Regions from separate parts of the Homo sapiens genome. Here regions 1 and 3 are each linked to region 2. The links are contacts of gene promoters, found by promoter capture Hi-C in human tissues and cell types (Jung and others, 2019). All regions are on one chromosome and are shown on one strand. The core of a region is centred on a gene start or on the middle of the fragment in contact, and the rest is flanking DNA. Distances in the headings are between cores, read along the strand shown.

The links. Contacts are between HindIII fragments. The study calls those that stand out against the background at their distance.
Region 1: a contact is called between a fragment that was not itself captured here and the fragment with the promoter of SNTG1 in region 2, in 2 of the 25 tissues and cell types used here (heart left ventricle and ovary).
Region 3: a contact is called between a fragment that was not itself captured here and the fragment with the promoter of SNTG1 in region 2, in 2 of the 25 tissues and cell types used here (liver and mesendoderm cells).

What each region holds. Positions count from the first base shown.
Region 1 is chr8:50,018,140-50,021,445 of GRCh38, reverse strand. All of the region lies in intron 1 of SNTG1 (syntrophin gamma 1), which reads right to left. Among named protein-coding and RNA genes, the nearest start is that of SNTG1, 110 kb to the right of the region's middle. The HindIII fragment of the contact is 8,781 bases long and covers 1-3,306 here.
Region 2 is chr8:49,909,275-49,912,699 of GRCh38, reverse strand. SNTG1 (syntrophin gamma 1) reads right to left here and starts at 1,293. Exons shown (of 19, transcript NM_018967.5): 1 at 469-1,293. RefSeq lists an enhancer at 1,444-2,388. The HindIII fragment of the contact is 7,737 bases long and covers 1-3,425 here.
Region 3 is chr8:49,838,167-49,841,494 of GRCh38, reverse strand. No RefSeq gene overlaps it. Among named protein-coding and RNA genes, the nearest start is that of SNTG1, 72 kb to the left of the region's middle. The HindIII fragment of the contact is 4,606 bases long and covers 1-3,328 here.

The DNA of each region.
Region 1 (3,306 bases), core at 284-2,783, 110 kb before region 2:
GGATTTGAGGAAATGAGCCATTGACCATATATATGGTATTAGTGGGAGAAAGTAAGAGAAGTTTCAAATCTGGAAAGGATAAACTAGAATCTGTACCAGCTGTGACAACAGACAGCAAAACAAACAAGAGTAAAATTGACAGGATTCAAATAAAGGTGGTGAGAAACAATGACAATGTAGATACAATTGAGGAAGTCATGTTGGAAGATTATAGATATAACTTATAGCTCTTTCATTTGAAAATCAACTCTGGAATCATGGAAATTTGCCAGAGCCAGTTTTATTGAGTGGGATTAGCTCTGGTGAACACCCACAGAAAAACCTTAGGAGTACTCAGGCTTTTGTGGGCAAAAGCAATACCTGGAACTGTGGTTCAAATGCCACCTCCTCTGCCCAACCAAAGATATTCATCACAGTAGATTAAGAGTAGCCCCTAGTCATATCAATGGCTAAAAGGATTCTGAGGTAGCAGGCCTGTAGATTGCAATTTGAGAAACTCTAGATTGCCCATATCTAAAATGTTAGATTAGGATGAAGAATCCATTTATAATGGAGTTTTTCATTTTCCCATCAGATTTCTTAGAATCCATGGGCATATCAACTACATAAGTAAATAATGCCTTTTTGTCCTACATAAAGTAAAAAATCCAAGGTGCATTGGATCGTCCATTTATAACCTGAGAATAAAAGCATTTTCACTCTCCTCCCTATCATAGCTTCTCAGATTACAAATCATCAATCTATGCAGGGGTGTAGTCTATGCATTTTCACCATCTGCTCTCCAATAAATAGCCCCTTTGTAAAAAGATGTGTGTGTATCAAAACCAATCAAACAACAATAAAATCCATGCAGATTAATGATGTGCCTAAATGAATTAGACAATCATTATTATAAGAAGAAAATATTTTACAGATAAAATATATTTCAAAGAGAATGCAATTGAAACTTTATTATCTCCTAAATGATTGCATTGTACATATAAAGTTTACTATTCACAAAGGTAATTAATAAACTTGGCTTGGCTGTGCTTGCATTAAAACCAATGATTTTAAAGAGAGATGAATAGCAGCCTGGCAGCTGTGTAGGAAGCCTTGTCTGTGTCTCCCATCTAAGACCTTGTGTAAATATGTCAAAACCAATCCCAAGAAAGTAAAGGCTTATTATTCACTCTGTACTGAGGGAAGCGTTATCTTCTCTAATTAAATGAAAAAACAAGTAATACAAGATAAAAGAGGAGGAGGGGAAGAGCTTTACATCAAAGCAAAACATTTTCCTTTAGGATTCCAGATTTGTCAATGCTCAGTAAGAAATAACCATTCCAGGTGCTGTTTAATACACAATGTAAATGGGGAATCCCATGCTGAAGATAGAGTATAGTGGCACAAAAGGCTCAATTAGTTCCTGATTTTTTTTCTAAAGGTTAACAATAGAAGTGGTCATGGATTCTGCTGTCAAATTGCCATCTGTTTTAGTGTCTTAATAACTTTGGAAAGATTACAATATTTTCACAGCCTCTCAGTTTGACAAGTGGGATAAAATAACACCTCTGTTTAGAGGACACTCTTATGTCTCTTGACATGCATGATAGCACTGCTTATGATGTTTCACACCCAGCAGGACCTCAGCATAGACAACAGCTATGCAAACACTAGTTTGTACAATTGTATTTCAATCTCATATGCCTACAGTCATTTCCTCATTATCATATTACTCTCTACTCTTAACATTTCCTTGTGTCTTTGGGGGGTTATTTGATTTTGTTTATGTTTTCACAGAATGTATGAATCAGTTTTATCAGGTCTCTTTCTTTGAATTAAGAGGTTCTTAAAGTGAATTGAAAGAACCCATGCATGGATACATGAATGAATGGGCACATGAGTGTATGATGAACAGATGCATTAATAGTTCAGATAAATTTTTCATAGATAGATACAGAAAGCAAGATAAACTAAGAGACTTTATTAAGAACAAGGGGGAAGTGTAAAAAGAGCTTCTTTGGATTTCACTCAACTAATACACTGTTCTTTATCCATCTTAAGGTAATTTAATACATTGCAGGAACCTATGCACACTCGTTTGTATTTTCTGTTTATAAGTCTGTCCCTGAAAACCACTCTCAAGACTGAACGTCTTACCAAGTAAAAGAACTTACATCATTTTCTTCAAATCTATCAGAAAGACAATGAAAATTTTTCTGCAGCTTTACTGAGACACATTTCACATACTATAAAATCCATCCATTTAAAATATTCACTTCCATCTTAGTATATTTACAGTGTTGTTCAGCCTTTATTGTAATAGAATTTTGGGACCTTTCTCATCAATTACAAAATAATTCCCACACGTATTAGCAATCATTCATCTTCTCTTCTTTTCCTTGACCCTTCCCCAGACCCAGCTTTGTCAACTTCTAGTCTACTTTCTATCTCTATTTTTGCTAGGATATTATTTTATTTCCCTTGGGTATATACCTAGGAGTAGATTTGCTGGATCATATAACAATTCTATGTTTAATTTTTTGAGGAACTGCCAAATTGTTTTCACAGTGGCTTGCACCAGTTTTCAGCAGCAATGTACAAAGGATCCAATGTCTCCACATCTTGGCCAACACTTGTTATTTTTTGTTTCTTTGTTTATAACCATCTTAGTGAGTGTGAAGCAAAACTGTGGCTTTAATTTGCATTTATCTAATTTATCTAGATCCATATATATGATGTATTAACATATTCTTATGTTCTATGCATTGTTTTCTCACTTTCTTGGTGCTCTTTGATACACAAGTTTTTAATTTGATAATGTCCATTTTATCTATCTTTTTTGCTTTTGATATCATAAGTAAAAAGCGAAACAACAACAGCAAAAACATTGCCTAACACATAGTCAAGAACGTTTACTCTTATGTCTTTTTCTAGTTTTATTACTTTAGATCTTACATTCATGTCTACAGTCCATTTTGTGTGGATTTTTGAGTAAGGTGTGAGGTAGAGGTCAAAACTCATTCTTTGCATATCCAGTTGTCCCAGGAACATTTGTTAACAAGAATTTTCCCTCTCCATTGAATGATCTTGGCACTGTTGTCATAAATTAGTTGAGTGTAAATGTAAAGTCTTACTTCTGAAGTGATCTATACTTCTATCCATATGCCAATACCTCAGTGTCTTTATTACTGAAGCTTAAAATAGGTTTTGACATTGGGAAAGGTGAGACCTCCATAAATATTCTTCCTCAAGCTTGTTTTTACTATTCTGAATCATTATCTTTCCATACAAATTTTATAAGCATCATAAAAATTTATGCAAAACACT
Region 2 (3,425 bases), core at 44-2,543:
ATATGTATACATGTATTTGTTCCCATGCATAGTTTAGTATATTATAACAATATAAAATATGTTAGAGGGCATGGTTAAACCCTCTCTATTTTAACTTTTTTAGTCTTGCATACTATGTAACACAGACAGGATCACTTTTTATGGCATACATAAGACAACAAAATTATCTTGCCAAACGATTGCATTAGTTTTGGGAAAAAATAAACAAGATATGCCAGATCCAAAAAGATATTAGATAAGCAATAAGAAAAATGGCCAGCTAAAAGTTTACTGTAATTATGTAAGGCAACATGTATGTTATTTTGATTCTTCTTGTCACACAATGATCCAGAAACAATTATTTTAAAACAAAATTGCTTGTCTCCTCGTTAACCCCAGAAAAAATTACACTGCTTATGATCTTTCTGTTAAACCATAAGACAAGTCATTAGAATTTTAAAAAACAAAAATAATAGCGCTATCACTTACCTGCCGAGCAATGAAATTAGATGTCTTTTCAGTCTCTCTAACGTAGAATTTTGAGTAGCTCTCCACCCTCTTTTCACAAAGCTATTTCCAAAACAGTTGCAATCCACTCAAGACCATTCTGTTTATTTCAAGAAGTGTGGACCTTTGAGCATTTCAACCCCTACCGCACGGCCCATGATTTCTCAGAGCTTCTAAGAACTTCGACTTTACTCTCCTCCAGAATTCCTCCCAGACCCCTATAGAAAAATGATTCTTGAAGTTGCTGCTGAGAGTTTAATCTGTGGAGCAAGAGTACTCCTCAGAGTCCTGTCCTTAGGTACAGCAGGTGTAGAGGGAGGGGTACTTTTCATCCATTAAGGAAGGGGGCCGGGAGGCGAGGGGGTAATAGGAGGCACCGCCTTTTAGCTGCGAGGAGCAAGTAGCCCAGCTGCCCGTGGCGACGACAGTGGCGGCAAGGACAGCGGCGGCGGCAGCGTAGTTCCGTCCCTGTGGCTGCAGCTCAGTCCGGAGACGCTGTCCATCCCCTCTGGTGCTGAAGTAAGGGGACGGGAGCCCCTAAGCGCAGGTCCAGGTCGCACTTTCCTCCACCAGCGAATCCAAGCAGCAGCTTCCTTGTCTTCCGCCCTAGCCTTCTCCCCTCCGGTTCTTTTTTTTTTCTTTTTTCTTTCTTTTTTTTTTTTGTAGGGGCTAATTGTTTCTCCAAATTAACAGTCTCATACTTATTTGGTGACAACGTTTCTGGAAAAACAGGAATCCCTGGGAAATAACATCTGAGCCTCCCCTGACTTTTCAGTGGCCCTGCACGAGTTTCCTAATGCCAGAAATGAAAGAAAACGCACGCACAGGGGCGCGCACATACACGCACGAGAGAGGCAGAGAGAGAGAGAGAGGAAGAGAGAGAAAAAATATATAGATTTGTACCGTGGAAAATCCAGAGCTTCTTTGGAAAGCTCGTGGATCTTTAATTACATAAGATGAAAAGGAATATTTTGGAAAACTCCGCAATCTTGATTACCAATTAAGGGGACCACATTCAAATTTTGAGAAACCCAATTTGAAATTCCTAAATTAAACCCAGTGAAGATTCTTAGACCCTCCACGCGGAAACGATAGGTTATTGTTAAAATTTTAAAAGACAGAGAATGAAAGAATGAAAAAGACAGGAAAAAGCATCTGCACTCGGCTACCTTTTAAAACGCTGCTGAATTGGATCGGGATCGTTGCAGAGCCTCTCAGAGGATCCGGCGAACGCAGCTCCTGTGAGTGTCAGCGCTGAGCTCAGCGAGCAGGCAGCTTGGAGGCCCAGGGCAGTGCTAGCGAGTCGCCCACAGCCTAGGCTCCTGCAGTGGGGGCAGAAAACGGCTTATTTCACAAAGGACGGGATAAAGAAGGCACAAAGACAGTCAGAGGGCTCGACAATCTCTGCCTTTGTAAAGCCAGAGCAAAGCCCAATTTACGTTGTTTTTTTTGTTGGCTTTTCAGCCCATTTTCCCTCTGGTCTCCCACGCTGCCCCCTCGCCTCCCTACTCCGGAATCCGCGCTCTCCCGGGCCTTGCAGGCTCTTCACTCCCGCTCTTGGCAACTGGCTGACAACGAGCATAAAGAAGGGTATGGGTGCGTGGTCCCGAGTGCTGTCACCCAGGGCTCAGCCACCCACACTCGGCAACGGGTGCAGACGCCAGTGAACTGAGACGGGAAGTTGAAATACATAACGTTGAAACTGTTGGAAAACTGGTCAAAACCAGGGCCATGTGGACCTTTGAAACTATGTGGAGTAAAAGGGGAAAATGGAAAGAGCGAGACTGTAACACCGCCCGCCCTTGCAGACTCCTAACTTGTGCAGTGTAGATTTCTGCACAAGGAGGTTATTGATAGACATGAGAGGAAATTCGAGAAAGACTGGTGAGGGGCGCTGGTGTGTGTGGTGGGGACGGGGGTCCGGGAGGGGCGGGGCGCAACACTAATTTCTCCCGGGCTGTGGGAAGGGGCCGGACGCCTGCTCCTGGCCTCCCTTCCCCGGCGACTTCTCAGGTTCTTCTTCCTGTTCTGACACTACAGGGAAGTCCTAGACGTTGTGCTTTCCTCCCACGCTTGCTTCCATCAAGGATTAGAGCGCGTTCCCGCTGGTCTGGAACCATCCATTCCAGGTAGGGGATCTTCCCTCCCGGGGACATTGCGCTCTCCAAGCACCGGCCTGCGGCGCGCGCGGGGGACGGGCGAGGAGGCGGCACAGCCAGTGGAGTTCCAGTGGGCTCCCTGGAGGAGAAACGTTACTGAGCCGGGAATCACTCGGGACGGAAAACCAAACAGGCCGCGTATTTACTCACAGGAAAAGGCCAGACTTTGGTTGGACTTTGAGCCATTTTGCTGCAGCAGCAACGGCTTTATTTCCCTGGGGTGGCCACCAGCCGCCACCGCGGCTCGCGAGCTCCGGCTGGAAGGGGCCGCGCTGTGCTCCGCACATTGCAGGCCGCGGTCGCTGTGTGGAGCTGCACACGCAGGAAACGGTCGCCGTGGAACGAAGCCCTTGGTCAACTTTCTCTAACAGTCTTTTTTAACAGAGGATCTATTAAAGGTTGTGATTCTCTCTAAAACCGTGTTTGGGGAATCCATCTGACCTCACGGAGACACACAAACCTAAAAAGAGAGTATCTGCTGCTTGAGGCTAATTTTTAAGGGGGTCTTTTGCTTTTCAGTCCATGTGAAAACGTTGCTTAAGGTTATGGTAAATGAAGTTTCCCTTTTCCTTAGACAAATGTGGTGAAACACGTGCTTCTTTTTTCTGCAGAAACAATACCTGTCGTGTGTGTTTCAGAAAATGCCCCCTTTTTGTTAGATGATTAAAACAAACCCCCCGTGTGAGGGTTATGCTAATCAGGGGCTATCCGTCCTTGTCAGCAAAGAAGCTTTTCTCTGCTGTATTTAATTCTATGCTTACTAAGGTTGATTTAATTGAT
Region 3 (3,328 bases), core at 109-2,608, 71 kb after region 2:
AATCAAATGCAGAATCCTGGATGGGGCCCTAGAACAAGAAAAGACACTGAGTACAAACTAAGGAAATCTTAATAGATTATGGACTTTACTTAATAACAATGTATCAAAATTGATTTGAATGTTAGACATACAGAAACTTTCTGTATATCTAGTATAGATATACTAGGTATATCTCTATATACTAGATAGAGATACTAGATATACTAGATATATATCGAACCTTCTCAACTTTTCTATTAAAAAATCTTATAAAATTAAAAGTTTCTAAAAAGGATACTTAATGAATTCATTACTTATAAGGAAAAACACAGGAATCTTTTAACATATAAAAATTAGAATCGTATTAAACATAGGATATGAACAATTTTTAATTGAATTTGGTTTATCCACATGGTTGAATGTTATACAGCTATTATGAATAACTTTAAAATGCTTATGTAAAAAATAGAAAATAGTTATATTAAAATATCTAACAAAGCAATAAGAAAATTTTTTAAAAGTATGATTGTATCTGTATCAAATATCCAATATCCACCATAAGCCCAGCTCCTCCCTAAGTTAAAAAGAAAAACAAAAACCAGAGGATAGGAGACAAGCAGTATGTAGAAGCTATATCCCTACTAGTATATACATATTTAACTAAATATTTAATTATAGAAAAGTATAATTCTCTTTTTACTCATTTGATAAAAGTTACTGTGGTTTGTATTATTAAATTACTATGGTTTATATGATAAAAAATAATATATTTTCCCAGGGAAGAGCTACATATCACACTTTTAGAGTATTCTCGATTCCAACATTAAGAATCTCTAAAAATGAGAAGCCATATAATAAGTGGTTTGAGCTGAGTTGTAAAATTACACACGCCTAGGTTTACATATTATTTCCAACCCTTAATACCTACATGAACTTTGAAATATTATTCAATTTCTAAGTCTTGGTTTCTTCATACAAAAGGGAGAATAATTATATCTACCAAAGAATTTATTGCAGTGCTTGAATCATGGTTAATGCTAAGTAAATTCTATAAGAGATATTTCATTAGAATAAATTAAAAATACATATTAGTCTGAATTCTTCTGAAGAAAGATGAGAGAAGATGAAGAAATTCAAAGAAACTAATGGACAACATTAAGTTATACCAGTTTCCCTTGAATTCAGATCCCTGAAGGATCATAGGTAGACAGGAACATCATTCATGATAATTGGGAAAAGAGAGTTAATAGGAGTCCAAGGGTGAAAGACAAAATTCCAAGGAAACTCTGAAGGGAATGAATAAATCAATACAAACCTAGAACCAGCTCAGCAAAAAGCAGAGCACAGATCCCGAGCCTCAAGAACAGATAAGACTAGAGAAACGACGTCAATATTCAATGCAAATATTTAAAAATAATGATTGCATCATTTGCTTGAGAAAAAATTTGAAGATGTTCAGAAACGTGAGCTAGTGACACTGTTGTTTTATTAGCCTGGGGAGATATGTTTCCATGTAATTCATGTCTTCCTTACCGCAACACTACTGTACACACACATTTTTGTATAAGATGTAAATTTGTGAAGCATTAAAATAGCTGCTTCGAAAATCGACATTTGTGATCTCAGAAAAGAGAGCTCAAGAAGCGATGCAGTTCCCAAGATAACACAGGACCTGAGGGCTGCTCAGCTTCAGTTTGGCTAGGAAGACAGGACCATGACAAGAGGAAACATGTTGTGTTAGTGAGATGACAACTAGGATTTTGGGTAAGAATTTGGGTCTACAAGGAATATGGAATTGGGGTAACATAATCAAGGAATAATTTAATTAAAAACCTGTATAGTGAGAGTATGCCAATGAGGAGCTTCACTAGAAGTAGCAGAAAGAGACTCCATAAAGTTTCACTGAAGGAGATTGTAATTACTTTAACAGTTGTTTTTAATTCACACTTCTTTGCATATAGAAATCTTTAGAGTCCAACACCATTAAATGTACTGATTGGAACTTTTCATGTTTCAATTATAGTAAAAGCCATTGAGCAATGTTCATAGGGACTCTGTAGTCCAGCATTTATGCAAAAGTTATTAATTTTTAAAACTAGAATGACTTGGGATAAATATATTTGGTAGTTTCTGAAATCACTTAGGAGTATTTTGTATCATGAAAGTTAATAAATCTGGATAAAATATAAAAACTCAATCATTATTAATCAAGCAATTTTTTAAAAGTCTTTAATGACTGACTTTTCTTTTTTCAATGTTTCAAGCACATCGTCAATATACTTTTTTATTCTCATTTATTATATATTTCCTTTCATCCAAAATTGTCATTCTATGAATGTATTTATGAGCAAATTTGAAGGGATGATTGACCTCAATTGTAATCTTCCCTGTTAAGAATGAATTGCTATGGGTATCATGCTATGGAGAAAGTAGGAATTGATTCTGAATCTCACATACACACATGCCCACACACACATATGCCCTTCCCCCAACATACAAGCATGGAGCTGAAAATAAACACAGTTTAATTCAGATGAAAATCAACCACTTTCAAAATAGCATTAGAAACCAATCATTTGTACCTTGCTTTGTGAAACAAAGGCAAAAACAGAACCCATGCTGTGCATCCAATTACAATAGTAGGCGCACCATGACAAGCTTCACAGCCATTTTCAGATAAGGCCCAAATATGAGCGCAGAGTGAAATTAGCAAACAACAACACAAAGGAAGTAAAGAGAACAGAGAAGAATTGTGTGAGGAAAAGGAGAAGAGAGGCCCATCAGTAGCGAGGCAAGAGTTTGACAGACGGAAGGTGAGGAAGGCAGGTGAACCTGTCACTGATGCACTCAGAAAACAGGGGTCGCCCATCACTCCTTCACCTCCATACTGCCGCAGGTCACAATCAGCATTAAGGGGACACATAGGCTCTTACATTTTTCTTTTTTTTTTTTTTTTGAGACAAAGTCTCACTCTTTCACCCAGGCTGGAGTGCAGTGGCATGATCTTGGCTCACTGCAACCTCTGCCTCCCAGGTTCAAGCATCACCTGCCTCAGCCTCCCAAAGTGCTAGGATTACAGGTGTGAGCCACTGCGCCAAGCCGGCTCTTCAAGAATACATCCTTGTCCACTTCATGCACAGGTGAGAGTTCTGTGACTATTTTCTTGGATTATCTCAGAACGATGTCTATCCACTCAGCTTGCCAAACTTTTGAAGGGTAGCAGAATATGCCACTCAAAATATGCCACTTTGGCATGAGAATTATTTTGAGCTGAAGGCAACTGAGAAGCAGACAAACTCTTGGCCCTCCCCCATCTGTCTAAAAGCAAAAAATGAGCAAAGATACAAGC